Linked DNA regions of Homo sapiens: region 1 is linked to region 2. The links are contacts of gene promoters, found by promoter capture Hi-C in blood cells and fetal thymus (Javierre and others, 2016). All regions are on one chromosome and are shown on one strand. The core of a region is centred on a gene start or on the middle of the fragment in contact, and the rest is flanking DNA. Distances in the headings are between cores, read along the strand shown. Region 1 holds the start of NLRP1 (NLR family pyrin domain containing 1). Region 2 holds the start of PIMREG (PICALM interacting mitotic regulator).

What was found. Contacts are between HindIII fragments. The CHiCAGO score rates a contact against its expected background, and 5 or more counts as called.
Region 1: the fragment with the promoter of NLRP1 here is called in contact with the fragment with the promoter of PIMREG in region 2 in 17 of 17 cell types (activated CD4 T cells, total B cells, naive CD4 T cells and 14 more); the score reaches 35.2 in activated CD4 T cells.

Annotation. Positions count from the first base shown.
Region 1 is chr17:5,579,839-5,586,917 of GRCh38, reverse strand. NLRP1 (NLR family pyrin domain containing 1) reads left to right here and starts at 2,409. Exons shown (of 17, transcript NM_033004.4): 1 at 2,409-3,231; 2 at 4,072-4,248; 3 at 4,856-5,059. The coding sequence starts at 2,961. RefSeq lists enhancers at 2,021-2,320, 2,341-2,600, 1,872-3,071. The HindIII fragment of the contact is 12,933 bases long and covers 1-7,079 here.
Region 2 is chr17:6,439,368-6,445,885 of GRCh38, reverse strand. It overlaps PIMREG (PICALM interacting mitotic regulator), which reads right to left and starts at 1,431. Exons shown (of 6, transcript NM_019013.3): 1 at 1,398-1,431; 2 at 482-810. The coding sequence starts at 775. All of the region lies in intron 2 of LOC107985017 (a long non-coding RNA gene), which reads left to right. RefSeq lists silencers at 1,182-1,409, 1,492-1,741, 1,972-2,121 and an enhancer at 1,473-2,051. The HindIII fragment of the contact is 3,587 bases long and covers 183-3,769 here.

The DNA.
Region 1 (7,079 bases), core at 1,160-3,659, 860 kb after region 2:
GGATAATTTTTTTTGTATTATAATTATTAGAGATGGGATTTCACCATGTTAGCCAGGCTGGTCTTGAACTCCTGGCCTCAGGTGATCTGCCCGCCTCAGCCTCCCAAAGTGCTGAGATTACAGGCATGAGCCACTGTACCTGGCCGGATTTGGGAAGTTTTTTAATATTATGTCATAGGGACAGGGTCTTGCCATGTTTCCCAGACTGGTCTTGAACTCCTGGACTCAAGCGATCCTCCCACCTCAGCCTCCCAAAGTGCTGGGATTACAGGCACGAGTCACCACACCTTTGGTTGGACTTTGGTTTTTACTCAGAGTGAGATGGAGTATGGGAAAGTTTTGAGCTGAGAAGTGACCTGACCTAATTTATGCTTTAAGTGGATAATTCTGGCTTCTAGACTGAGAGTAGACAGTAAAGGGGAAGCATCAGCATGGGTGGAGAACATGTGGAAGGCTAGCACAGTGATCCCAGTAAGAGACGACTGAAGGCTGGACCAGCAGCCCCAGTGGGCGTGGTGGGAAGGGTCAGGTTTCTGATCTATTTAACAGGTTGAGTGGATCTCCAGCGGCCAGTGATTTAATGAATTATGCCTGTGAAGTGAAACCTCCGAGAAAACCCCACAGTCTTGTTTGTTTGGGGTTTGGAGAGCTTCCAGGTTAGTGAAGCAGGGAGGGGCAGGGAGAGTAGGGTGCCCGGGAGGGCAAGGAAGCGCTGTGCCCCTCCCCCACCCACACCTTGACCTCGGCATCTCTTCCGTTGGGCTATTCCTGAGTCGTATCCTCCATCATGAACCGATAATAATAAATAAAGTGCTTTTCTCAGTCCTGTGAGTCATTTCAGCAAATTATTGAACCTGCCGGGGACTGTGGGAACCCTTGAATTTGTCACCAAGTCAGACAGAGATGCCAGTGGTCTGGGCACCCCATTTGCAACTGGCATCTGATATGAGGCCAGCTCTTCACTGAAACCCTAAACCTGTGAGGTTTGATGCCAACTCCAGGCAGTCAGTGTCAGAATTGCACTGTAGGACACCAGTTGGTGTCTAGAGAGTTGGTGCCAGAACTGGCTGGTGTGAGGAGGAAAAAAAGCCCACACAGCCCTCCTCCAGGCCATTCCTCCCGCTACATGGAGTCTCACGGTCCTTCACGGAGTGCTCAGAGCCTCCCGATCATCCCACTTTTAGCACAGCACTTTTCCACTTCTGGTCAATCTGATATTAGAATGTCCTACAATGTGCTTATTAGCCATTTTTTAAAACTAACATTTATAAAATTTATTTAGGCCAGGCACGGAGGCTCACACCTGTAATCCCAACATTTCGGGAGGCCGAAGTGGGCGGATCACCTCGGATCAGACTGGCTAACATGGTGAAACCCCATCTCTACTAAAAATACAAAACAATTAGCCAGGCGTGGTGGTGAGTGACTGTAATCCCAACTGCCCAGGAAGCTGGGCTGATGCAGGAGAATCGCTGGAACCCAGGAGGTGGAGGGAGCTTGCAGTGAGCCGAGATCTTGCCACTGCACTCCAGCCTGGGAAAGAGAGAGAGACTCTAAGACCTTTTGCTGAATTGAAGCCTCTTGGTAAACCTATGATGTCCCATTTAATAGATGGGCAAACTGAGGCTCAAAGAAATAAATCAGGCACATAAGGAGTCCTTGTCCAAGCAAGCCGTGGGTTGAAGCCTGGGCTCTGCCAGTCCAAGTGAAACCAAAGCATCTCCAGAAATTCCTGGTGGTGTGTTACATCAGCAAATGAGTAGGCAATGTCATTCCTCAACCTGAAGTCATTGGCATCTTGCAGATTCCACGAAAGAGGAAGTCTGCCCCTGGCTCCCCGAGGCCTGCTTGCAGGAATGAGGAAGGGGCTGTTCTGCTTTCAGGTGGAAATGTTCACCAGCTAAGTGCTGGGCTGCCCAGAAGGCAAACAGCCCCCTGGGCCTGGGACACATGCTTTAGTGCCCCTGGTAGCATGGCAGGACATGCAGTGCAACTCAAGAAGCTCCCAAAACCATGAGAGGCTGGGAAAAATGCTCCCTGGCCCAGTTCTAATGTTTCCCAATAAGGAGCTGCCCGGGCAGACACAGGGGGCCCCACCCATCCTGAGAGGCTGGGCCTGGGCTGCAGACACAACTGCTCGGAGAGTCTGCATCCTGGCTCTGCAGACAGGCTCTAGATGATGGGCTGGCGGAGTGCCCATGTGGAGGTGCACACACCGTGTTTAGTATGGGCCTGTACCTGCTGCAGCGTCAGCTGGTCTGGGCCTGTGCTCCTGGTCCGCCTATAGATGCCATGTGGCCCATCTGAATCTGTGACTCTGAGTCTGGCCTACCCAGGCCTGGTTTGATCCTACCCCCTGGCCACGCCCCTTGTGGGTTTCCTCTGGGTGACGTTTCCTTCCTGCTCTTGTTGACTAGGCGCTGTTCTTGCTGGCTGGTGCCCCAGGGCCTGGAGAGGTCTGAAGAAACCTGGGAGCCAGCAGCCCGGGGCTCCACTCTGGGTTCTGAAAGCCCATTCCCTGCTCTGCGGCTCCTCCCACCCCACCTCTTCTCAGCCTTGCAGCTCAAGGGTTGATCTCAGGAGTCCAGGACCCAGGAGAGGGAAGAATCTGAGGAACACAGAACAGTGAGCGTTGCCCACACCCCATCTCCCGTCACCACATCTCCCCTCACCCTCACCCTCCCTGCCTGGCCCTGGACCCCATCCCAGGACCTCCCTATCAGCTGACTTCTTCCAGTGTCTTGCAGGCCCCTCTGGGCTCCTCCCTCCCCTGGCTTTTCCTACCACTCCCCCTCTATCGGCGTCTATCTGTAGGTGCCCTGGGATTTATAAAACTGGGTTCCGAATGCTGAATAAGAGACGGTAAGAGCCAAGGCAAAGGACAGCACTGTTCTCTGCCTGCCTGATACCCTCACCACCTGGGAACATCCCCCAGACACCCTCTTAACTCCGGGACAGAGATGGCTGGCGGAGCCTGGGGCCGCCTGGCCTGTTACTTGGAGTTCCTGAAGAAGGAGGAGCTGAAGGAGTTCCAGCTTCTGCTCGCCAATAAAGCGCACTCCAGGAGCTCTTCGGGTGAGACACCCGCTCAGCCAGAGAAGACGAGTGGCATGGAGGTGGCCTCGTACCTGGTGGCTCAGTATGGGGAGCAGCGGGCCTGGGACCTAGCCCTCCATACCTGGGAGCAGATGGGGCTGAGGTCACTGTGCGCCCAAGCCCAGGAAGGGGCAGGTGAGTGGACAGAGGACCCCACTGCCCGCGGGACATCCCCTGGCCCTCATGCCTGCCCTGCCCTCTTGGGACCCCACCACTGAGCCCTCCCTGCCAGGCCTTCCTCTGAGCAGTGACATGGAACTGCCCTCTCAAAGGGGGATCCAGGCCCCAGACTATGCTGGAGCCAGGAGGCTTGCTGGGGGGGCCCTTGCTGCACCTCAGAGCCCCACACCCTCTTCTATTCAAGTGCATTCCCGGTACTCGCCTGGCATTGTAGTTATGAGCACGGACTTGGGAGTCAGGCACTATCACCAGTCCTGGCACTATCACCCTGGGCCAATCACTTCACTGCTCTCTGCCTATTTCTCTGTCTGCAAAATGGGAGAGTGAGAGCCCGCCTCCCTGGGCTGTGTGAGGGTTAAAAGAGATCATCCAGGTTAAACATTTAGCACAGAGTCTGATATACAGTAAGTGCTCAATAAATAAGATCTCCCATTGCTGTTGTTGCTGCTGCTGCTGCTGCTGTTATTATTACTATTAGCCACCCTGGGTTGCAGATGCCGTTGGCCCAATAAAGCACAGCTGAGGCTCAGTAGGAGTAGTGATTTACACAGGGAGATAGTCAGGACCAAGACAGATATGCAAATTTCCTGATCCTAGATGAGGATTTTTTGCCTAGCAGTATCTATAAGAACATCATTCTTCAGACAAGCCTCTAGAGGAAGTTGTAGAGGGCTGCAGCGGGTTCACTGGTGTATCCTGACCTCTCTTGGTTGAGAGAGGAGACCAGCTCAGTTCCCTGGCACCTTGCCCCTGCCCCTCTGATGTGTCTCCAACCTCTTTGTCTCTTTCCTGTAGGCCACTCTCCCTCATTCCCCTACAGCCCAAGTGAACCCCACCTGGGGTCTCCCAGCCAACCCACCTCCACCGCAGTGCTAATGCCCTGGATCCATGAATTGCCGGCGGGGTGCACCCAGGGCTCAGAGAGAAGGGTTTTGAGACAGCTGCCTGACACATCTGGACGCCGCTGGAGAGGTGAGGCTTGCTGAGGCAGGCTGACAGCCCTGGGTGGAGCTGTGAATCAGCTGGTGGGCCCCACCCAGAGGATCATGTCTGTGCATGGGGACCTGACATGGGGGACAGCAGAGGAAGGATAGGGGAGCCAGGATGGGCTGTGAGAGGTAGGCCTGAAATTGATCTTTCAGGGACCTTCCGGTGCTGAGATTGCATCCCTCCCCATGTGGCAGATGGGGAAGCTGAGACCCATGTGGGTCAGGCAATGAGTCTTCCCCAACTGGGTGCCCAACTCGTGACATGGTCCTTGCCCGAGAACTCAGCTCATAATATTGATGGGCTCTGAAGATCCTTAGGGTCAGGGTGGTCCAGAAGTTCCAAGGAGGACTCTGTTTTCCAGACAGACCCCAAGAAGAGGCTAGGCTTAGTCCTCGGCCCAAGCCAGCTCCCTCACATGACTTCTCTCTTCACTACTAAGAGAATAAAATTGCCCCTCTACTTCAACATGGTTTTCAAAATAATATTATTAAGACCCATCTCTCAGGACTGTTGTGAGAGTTTAAAATATATGCACCTAAAAGAAAATAAATGTTCAGTAAATGGTTATTTTTCTTTTCATTCCCCCCAGAAATCTCTGCCTCACTCCTCTACCAAGCTCTTCCAAGCTCCCCAGACCATGAGTCTCCAAGCCAGGAGTCACCCAACGCCCCCACATCCACAGCAGTGCTGGGGAGCTGGGGATCCCCACCTCAGCCCAGCCTAGCACCCAGAGAGCAGGAGGCTCCTGGGACCCAATGGCCTCTGGATGAAACGTCAGGAATTTACTACACAGGTGAGACCCTACTGAGCTCCTGGCGGGGTGGTGAGGTGGGAGAGGCAAATGTATGGACAAAGAGTCCCCTGGGGACCAGGTTGGCAGGCTAAGCAGAGGTTCTGGAAAACATCTGAAATTTCCCTCAGGAAATCCCACCCTTGGAGCCTCTCCACTGGTCCAAGGCACTGTTTCCAGGAGGCACCTGGACATTAAAATACAGATGTGTTACCCAGCACATCTGGGGGACAACAGAGCAAGGAGAGGGGAGCCTGGATGGGGTTACACATCACCTGGTTTACTGGACAGGGCACTGGCCTGGGGTCAGGAGAGCTGGGTTCAATTTCCACTGAGCTCCTCACCCCACAAGTGGCCTACAGCTAGTCCCATGCCCATCAGTGCTCACTGGACACTCTCTGGGTTAGACCATGTCCAGGGCTTTACGTGTACATTGGACTTAAATTTTACAACCACTCCGTGAGATAAATATTGCTATTATCATACCCTGGAGATGAGAAAACCAAGGATTAAAAAGATAGTCTCACAGTTAGTACTAGCAAAGATGGAATTCAGCCTTCACTCTCTCTCACGCAGCAATCCACACTTTTAACTCTTACACAGGGAGTGCCCTCATCTGGGCAATAAGGACAGTCATACTAAAGCCACAGGTACAGAGGCTCCTGATGCCACAGGTTCCTTAACCACTGAACCATGCTGCCTCTCAATGCCGGAGGATGCCTCCTTTGAAATCTGAGAGGTTTTAAGTTAAAAGGATTTCTTCTGCACCCAGCAAGGAGTGAACTTGTAGATTTTGTGGTCGTATATGGCCTAGGCTCAAAGTATATCAGTTTACTTAATTACTCACACCACTTGCCATTCAAAAAAAGAAGCCATGTAACAAACCTGCACATATACCGCGTGAGTCTAAAATAAAAAATAAATAAACTCATGTTTTAAAAATCTTGATAGGGTATATAAGGAAAGATCAACATTCGAGTTAAACTAAGGAAAACAGAAAGTCAAGAAAGGAAGATTCTAATACTTTAAGTTGTTTCTTTCTATATTTGAGAATCACAAAGATAACTTTTTCTCAGAATTATTTTGTGAATTAAAAAATCCAAACAATAAAGACAATTAAAACTGAAAAACAGAAAAGAAGGAAGATAGGAAGAATATAAAGACATATCAGAGCCATCTATAGAAGCATAAAAATGCAGTAACTTTAAAAGTGAAAAAAACAAGTATGAAAACCACAAAGACTACCTCATTGCTATAAATAAAGTTTCCATCAATTGTGGGCATTCTAGCAACACTGGCAAAAGGGGAAATATAATGGGTTACACAATACCTGTTACTCAATAGAAAAGACCAATGCAAGGGAAATAACATTTTTCCCTGATTCTAAATTCTAAGGGAATTCTTCAAATAGGGAACTTAAAAAAAAAACAACAACAAACTTTTATTTTAGTTTCAGAAACACATGTGCAGGTTTGTTATATAGGTAAGTTATGTGTCACAAGTGTTTGGTGTACAGATTATCTTGTCGCCCAGGTAATAAGCATGGTACCTGTTAGGTTGGGTTTTTTGTTTGTTTTTGTTTTTGTTTTTTGTTTGTTGTTTTTTGTTTTTTGTTGTGTTTTGTTTTGAGACAGAGTCTTGCTCGGTCACCCAGGCTGGAGTGCAGTGGCGTGATCTCCACTCACTGCAAGCTCTGCCTCCCGGGTTCACGCCATTCTCCTGCCTCAGCCTCCCGAGTCGCTGGGACTACAGGTGCCCGCCACGAAGCCCTGCTAATTTTTTGTATTTTTAGTAGAGATGGGGTTTCACCATGTTAGTCAGGCTGGTCTCGAACTCCTGATCCGAGGTGATCCACCCACCTCAGCCACCCAAAGTGCTAGGATTACAGGTGTGAGCCACCGCGCCCGGCCCGGTAGTTTTTTAATCCTTACCCTTCTCCCACTCTTCACTCTCAAAAGGTCCCAGTGTCTATTGTTCCTTTTATGTGTCCATGTGTACGCAATGTTTACCTCTAACTTATGAA
Region 2 (6,518 bases), core at 182-2,681:
TACCCAGACTACAATTCTGGCTCTCCTCAGGGATACACAGCTGAGTGGGCAGTACACCTTGCTTTCCCTCAGCTCTAGGCCTGGACTTGCACTATTTCCCCTACCCTAAATACCCCTTGACCTTTGCTTCCCTGGGTGAACTCTGGAATCACCTCCTCTGGGAAGCCTTCACCGACTAAGCTTGCATTTGGTGAGCCTCACTATTGGTCACTTGCTTTGCAATTTCCTATCACGTACAGCTCTTATCACCTGGTATTGTGAGCATCTGTTTCCTCCAAGACATGCTTTCATTCACTCATTCAACTATTTGTTGAGCACCTATATGTGCCAGGAACTATCTGGGGTGGTGGGGAAACAGCAGTGAACTAACCAACGTCCCTGTTTTCATGAAGTCTATATTCTTGAGGCTCTTTGAGGGCAGGAACTGCCTGGCACCAAGGAAACACTCCATAAAAAAGATGATTAGTGTTGTCAGTATTACCTGGGACACGGCACCCAAAGCACTCTTAGCTGAGCGAGCTGCAGCCTGGAGGCCCTGCTGACCTGGCTCTGGGGTTTCCAGGCGTTTCCAGGAGGGCCCTGCGCGGAGGTTGAGGTTGACGGCTCTCAGGGGCAGCCTCCTTTGGAACTGTCTGCACAGGGACCCCAGGGCCCCTACAGAGGTCTCCTGATGGCTGACCACAGGCTGCAGCTCCTTGCTGTCCTCCAGCTGCTCCTGGTGCTGGAGAGATCTCCGGCGCACGGAGGTCCCCATGTTCTGCCACCGAGAAGCCATCTGCCTGGCCAAGAGTCTTCTCTGTCCACTAGACCCTGGGGAGGAGGGCGAAAGGCAGATCAGCAAGGCATTCCCCATACCCATTCCCAGGCCCCACAGAGACCCTGGACACAGGGGAAGAGACGGGATGCAGCGGGGTGGCGGGGGCGGGCGAGTTGGTAAGTGTGGGTGCAGGAAGGAGGATGCTTCCTGGAAGAGGGGCCTCGGGTCAGCAGCATTTCTGATGTCCCGCCCTTCAAGTTTCCAAAACAGCTGTCTTTTCATCCCAACCTCCTTCCTCTCTCTGGCTCAGGCGAGGAGGGGAGGCAGGGTCAAGACACGCCGTAGCCGAGCTTCAGCGCTGGGCCCAGGACACGATCACCATCTTCTTCACCAGCTCGCCCAGACCAAACGCGCACCCGCCCAGACCCCGGCCTTCCCACCAGACGCCCCGATTTCGATCCGACTTCTTGTGGTACCCAGACGACCCCACAGGCCGTGCGTGTCCGAACCTGATGCCCTCCCCTGTGAACAGAACCTGATGCCCTCCCCTCCGAACAAAAAAATTGTTTTGAGTCCAGATCGCGCCATTGCACTCCAGCCTGGGCAACAAGGGCGAAACTTGTGCCCAGCCCGCACTCACCCGACACCACTAAGGCCGAGCACAGCCGCAGCACAGCTGCTCCTCGCCCACCGCAGCCGATTTGAAACTCTGCGCGGCTCCGCCCCCGGCCCCGTCCTCACAGCTGATTGGTTCCGTCCCCGCCCCCGCCACCGCCACCGCCCCGGGGATCCGATTGGCTCCCTCTCTCGCGGCTGCAAATGCTGCGCTTGGATTGGCCCGGCCGTGCCCATTCATCGCTCCGGCCCCCGCCCCGCCGCCAGCCTCGTGGCTCCGGGCTTTGTATCCTGCGTCCCGCTCGCGCCACTGCCCTTGCTAGCCCAGCCCCCGCGCATCGCACACCGGGTCCCCTCCCTGGAGCGCGCACAGGGTTCAGGCTGCTCTGACCCATGGGGTGGAGGCGGAGGTCCTGGGACCTAGGCCTCCTGGCTCAGGCCCCAGGCCCCAGGCCCGGCAGCGGGCAGAGACCCCTCTCATCCTGCCAAGGGGTCTGGCTTTTCCTTCTTGCTCAGTGGTTTTGTCAGAAGGAGCCAGGGACTGGCAGTGCAGAGCCCTGGGTTCCCAGAGACGTTTTCTTTCAAATTTCCCTCCTGACCCTCCCTTCCTGTGACAAGACACTGTCCCTCTCTGAGTTCCCCATACTCGCCATCCACGCTCCGCCCTCCCTAGAAAACGCGTCCCGGAAGCGGGGATAGACCAGAGTACCGGTCTGCCCTCCACCCGTCTACACCGGCTCCCCGCCCCCGCCTTGCCCCACGCATCCCTCCCTCTCTCCAGCGGAATGCCTGCCTCTCTTCTCCTTAGCATCCAAACAAATGCAGCCATTATAAAGCTCTCTCCAGCTCATCTTTCTCCTTTCGGTGACCTCAGAGCAGTGCTGCCCACTCCCCCGGCTGGTTTCTTTGTTACTTCTCCGCACAAGAGCCTGAGATGATGGCTTCTTGAGACTCTGTCTTCAGCCCTCTCCGTTTCTGGGTGGTCTCACCCACTCCTTTGGCCTCAGTGATTTCCAAGGAAAGGATGATGATAATGATTAACGTGTATATGGCACTTAGTATGCACAGGTACCGGTGTTGCAGTTTATTAACTTACTTGATCCTCTGCTATGGTTTGAATGTGTCCCTCAAATTTCACATGTTGGAAATGTAATGCCCAAATTCATATATCGGTGGCATTTTTTGTTTGTTTTTGAGACGGAATTTCACTCTTGTTGCCCAGGCTGGAGTGCAATGGCATGATCTCGGCTCACTGCAACCTCCGCCTCCCAGGTTCAAGCGATTCTCCTGCCTCAGCCTCCCTAGTAGCTGGGATTACAGGTGCCTGCCACCACGCCTAGCTAATTTTTTGTATTTTTAGTAGAGATGGGGTTTCACTATGTTGGCCAGGCTGGTCTCGAACTCCTGACCTTAGGCAATCCACCCGCCTCAGCCTCCCAAACTGCTGGGATTACAGACGTGAGCCACCGTTCCTGGCTATCGGTGGCATTTTTTAAGACATATAAATTGTTATTTATTCAAATTATAGAATATTATACAGCACTGAAAAATAAGCAAATTGTAGCCAGATGGTGTAACTTAAGTCAATCTCAGAAATATGTTAGATTAAAAAAAAGCAATATGCAGACAAACATAAAGTATGACACTGTATAAATTCAAACGCAAAAAAGCTCAACAATATGGTTTAGGAATATGCACATACATTTGTGGACAAAGCTATTATGGAAAGCAAAGGAATTGAAACACCAAAATAAAATAAGTCGTCGTTTTTGGAAGGGTGGCAGGAGAAGAGGATGTAATGAGGAAAGGGCTCAAAGGACTTCAAAGATAATGTTCCATTTTGTAGGCTGGGTGGTGGCCACATGGATGTTTACTTTCTTCTTTTTTATTTTTTTTCTTTTAGACAGGATCTTGCTCTGTTGTCCAGGCTGAGGTGCAGTGGTACAATCATAGCTCACTGCAGTCTCAACCTCCTGGGCTCAAGCAGTCCTCCTGCCTTGACCTCCCAGAGTGCTGGGATTACAAGCGTGAGCCACCTTGCCTAGTCTTTATTATTCTTTAAACCATATATGTAAGTAATTTTATACGTATCACTTTATAAATGCGTGTGTATACACATACCTGTACATATATTATTTTCTAAGTATGAGCTACTTTGTAATTTTCTTTAAAATTTTTTTTAAAATTGACAAGTAATAATTAAACATTTATGGGGCACATAGTGATGTTTTGATACATATAATGTAGAGTGATCAGATCTGGGTAATTGGCATATTCATCATCTCAAACATTATCGTTTTTCTGTGTTGGTAAGAGTCAATATCTTCCTTCTAGTTATTCGAAACTATATATTATTGTTCACTCTAGTCATTCCACAGTGCTATAGAATACTAAGCTTATTACTCCTATTTAGCTGTAACTTTGTGTCTTTTAACAAATCTCTCCTATTCCTTCCTTGCACCTACCATTCCCAACGTCCAGTATGTTGATGAGGTGAGGCCTTTGGGAGGTAATTAGCATTAGATAAGATCAAACAGATGGGGCCCCCATGATGGTACTGGTGGCTTTAAAAGAAGGGGAAGAGAGACCCGAGCTGACAGGCACGCTTTTGCCCTCTCACCATGCGATGCCTTCTGCCATGTTACAACACAGCAAGAAGGCCCTTACCAGATGCCAACCAGATGCCAGTGCTATGCTCTTGAACTTCCCATCCTCCAGACCATGAGCTAAGTGTCTTTTCTTTATAAATTATGCAGTCTGTGGTATTCAGATATAACAACAGAAAACGGACTGACATCTTCATTGTACCTACACTTGATGAGGAAGCTGAGAATACAGAATTTGGTAGGGCCCAAATTTCACTCAGTTAGTCTACACCAGGGCCAAGGGTTCAAACTTCATCAGTCTAGGGCTAGGGTCCCTGTGCCTAACCACCACACCACACTGCCTTCCTCAGCCCCTAACACCTCCACCCCCAGCTTGAGCCTCTCATCTGACATGTATAGCCAACTACCTCCTGGGTCTCATCTCCTCTTGAATGCTGCAGGCATCTTAGATAAACACACCCTAGCTGAAGTCACCCTGGTCTCCTCAATCCTCCTCCTCCCCCATATTCCCTCTTGCCTGTGATCCATTAAGCACTGTGCTAAAAAATGGGCCACAAAGGTCAACAAAACAGATACATTCCTTACTGTCATGGAGCTCAAATCTAGTGTGTGGGGAGACATAGACATGAAAGGATCAAATAACCAATAATCAGTTAATCAAAGAACTATGCAAAACTTATGTTATTGAAAGCTGAGACCTAGAGAATGAGTTAACCAGGCAACGAATGTGTGTGTGTGTGTGTGTGTGTGTGTGTGTGTGTGTGTGTGTGTGTGTGATCTTCTTGGCTCAGGGAACACCACGCTTAAGGAACCAGCATTCACTGTAAGAGACCCAGCACACACACACGTGAACTGAAACAAAAGTTTCATGAAACAATACTTGACTATGTGTGATATGACCTGAGATTTTATTTTTTATTTCATTTAAAAAAACCTTGATGGTTACAACCCACTATATTCATTCTACGAGTCACTAATGGAGTATGAGTTGTGGTTTGCAAAATATTGCTCTAGTTTGCCTGTCCATTTTGTTCACAGTGAAGTTGTTTATCAAGAGTCAGAAATGCTTGTTTTCAAACCTGTTTACAACAGTTGCATTTGTTACTGTAATTAAGGAATTTAACTGATGTCTTTTACCAGTGAAATCCAAGGGGGAAAAGAAAAAGTTGTTGTTTCTATGAAAACTAAGATGAAAGTGTGGGAAAGACTCCATGAAGGTGAAACATTTAGAAACAAGCCAAGTCTCTCAAACCGGAGTGTCTTATCACAATAGCCTCCCCAGTGCCTGTCATGTCACAGGCATCCGTAATAATAGCTTATATTTTTTGAGCCCTCACCATGTGTCAGACTCTCTGCTAAGGGCATTTACTTTCTTTATTCTTTTTTAATCCTCAAGCAATTCTATGAAGTAGGTACGTTTTTTATTTCCATTACAGATGACAAAAGTGAGATGCAGACAGGTGAAATATCTGGTCCAAGATTGTATGGGATGTCAGAACTGGAGCTTAAATCCAGTGACTGACTTCAAAGCCTGAATTCTTACCCTTAGATTACACAACTTTGTTAAGATCAGGGGTGAAACAATGAATGCATGCATGCATAAAGAGGCCCTCCCTGCTTGGAGCTTTCCACCATCTTCCCTCACTCAGAATGGTAACTGGCAGGCCAGGTTAATGAAGAACAGTCTCCATGGCAACAAGTAAAGGGGGAAGAAACATTTTCTTATGAATGGGAAGCCTTTCCCTTTTGCCTTGCGTGGAGTGGTGGCTGGAGGGAGGGAAGGAGGCTGTACTCAGGGGAAGGAGGCTCCTAGTCCAGAGGTCGGTACATTGGCTTCTGTTCTTGGTAAGGAGGAAAAACCAGTCACTTTTTCCTAGCAGAGGCTTTTGGAGGGGGAGGGAATCCAGCATCACCCTTGCCTCCGTTGGGGAGGGGGACAAACGAGGAGCTCCAGCCCTGCTCTCCAGGGGCTCTTTGTCCAAGAGCAAACATTCCACTAGTTTCCTTGACCTCCTGAAACTGTCAATCTGATGGAAGACATAGACATTAAACACATCATTGTAAACAATTACAATGGGGCAAAATAGCATGAATGTGCAGTGCTAGGGAGAAGTGACAGGGTATAAGGGGCATGGGGAGATTGACAGGAGCTGGAGGTCAGGGTAGTCTTCCCTGAATGTGTGGTGTTTGAAGTGAGGAGCTAGTGGGCCAGTGGTTGGGAGTCTGGAGCATTGCCAAGCGTTAGGACTGGGGAAAGCCTAGACAAAAAGGGTGGGGCTGAGATGAGGGGCTGAGGGTAGGGGATGGGGTGGCAAGAGACAGGGTCTGTAGGCCAGAGAAGGAGCTTAAAATTTGTCCTGAAGGTGGTGGCAACTCTTTGCTGAATTTGAAGAGGGCAGTAGGTTATTAGATTGGCATTTTAATAAAGTCCATGAGGAGACTGGTTTGGGAGCAGCTATGGTTTTAATGTGTCCCCCAAATTTCATCTGTTGGAAACCGAATCCTCAAATTCGTATGTTGATGATATTTATGGGTGGGAC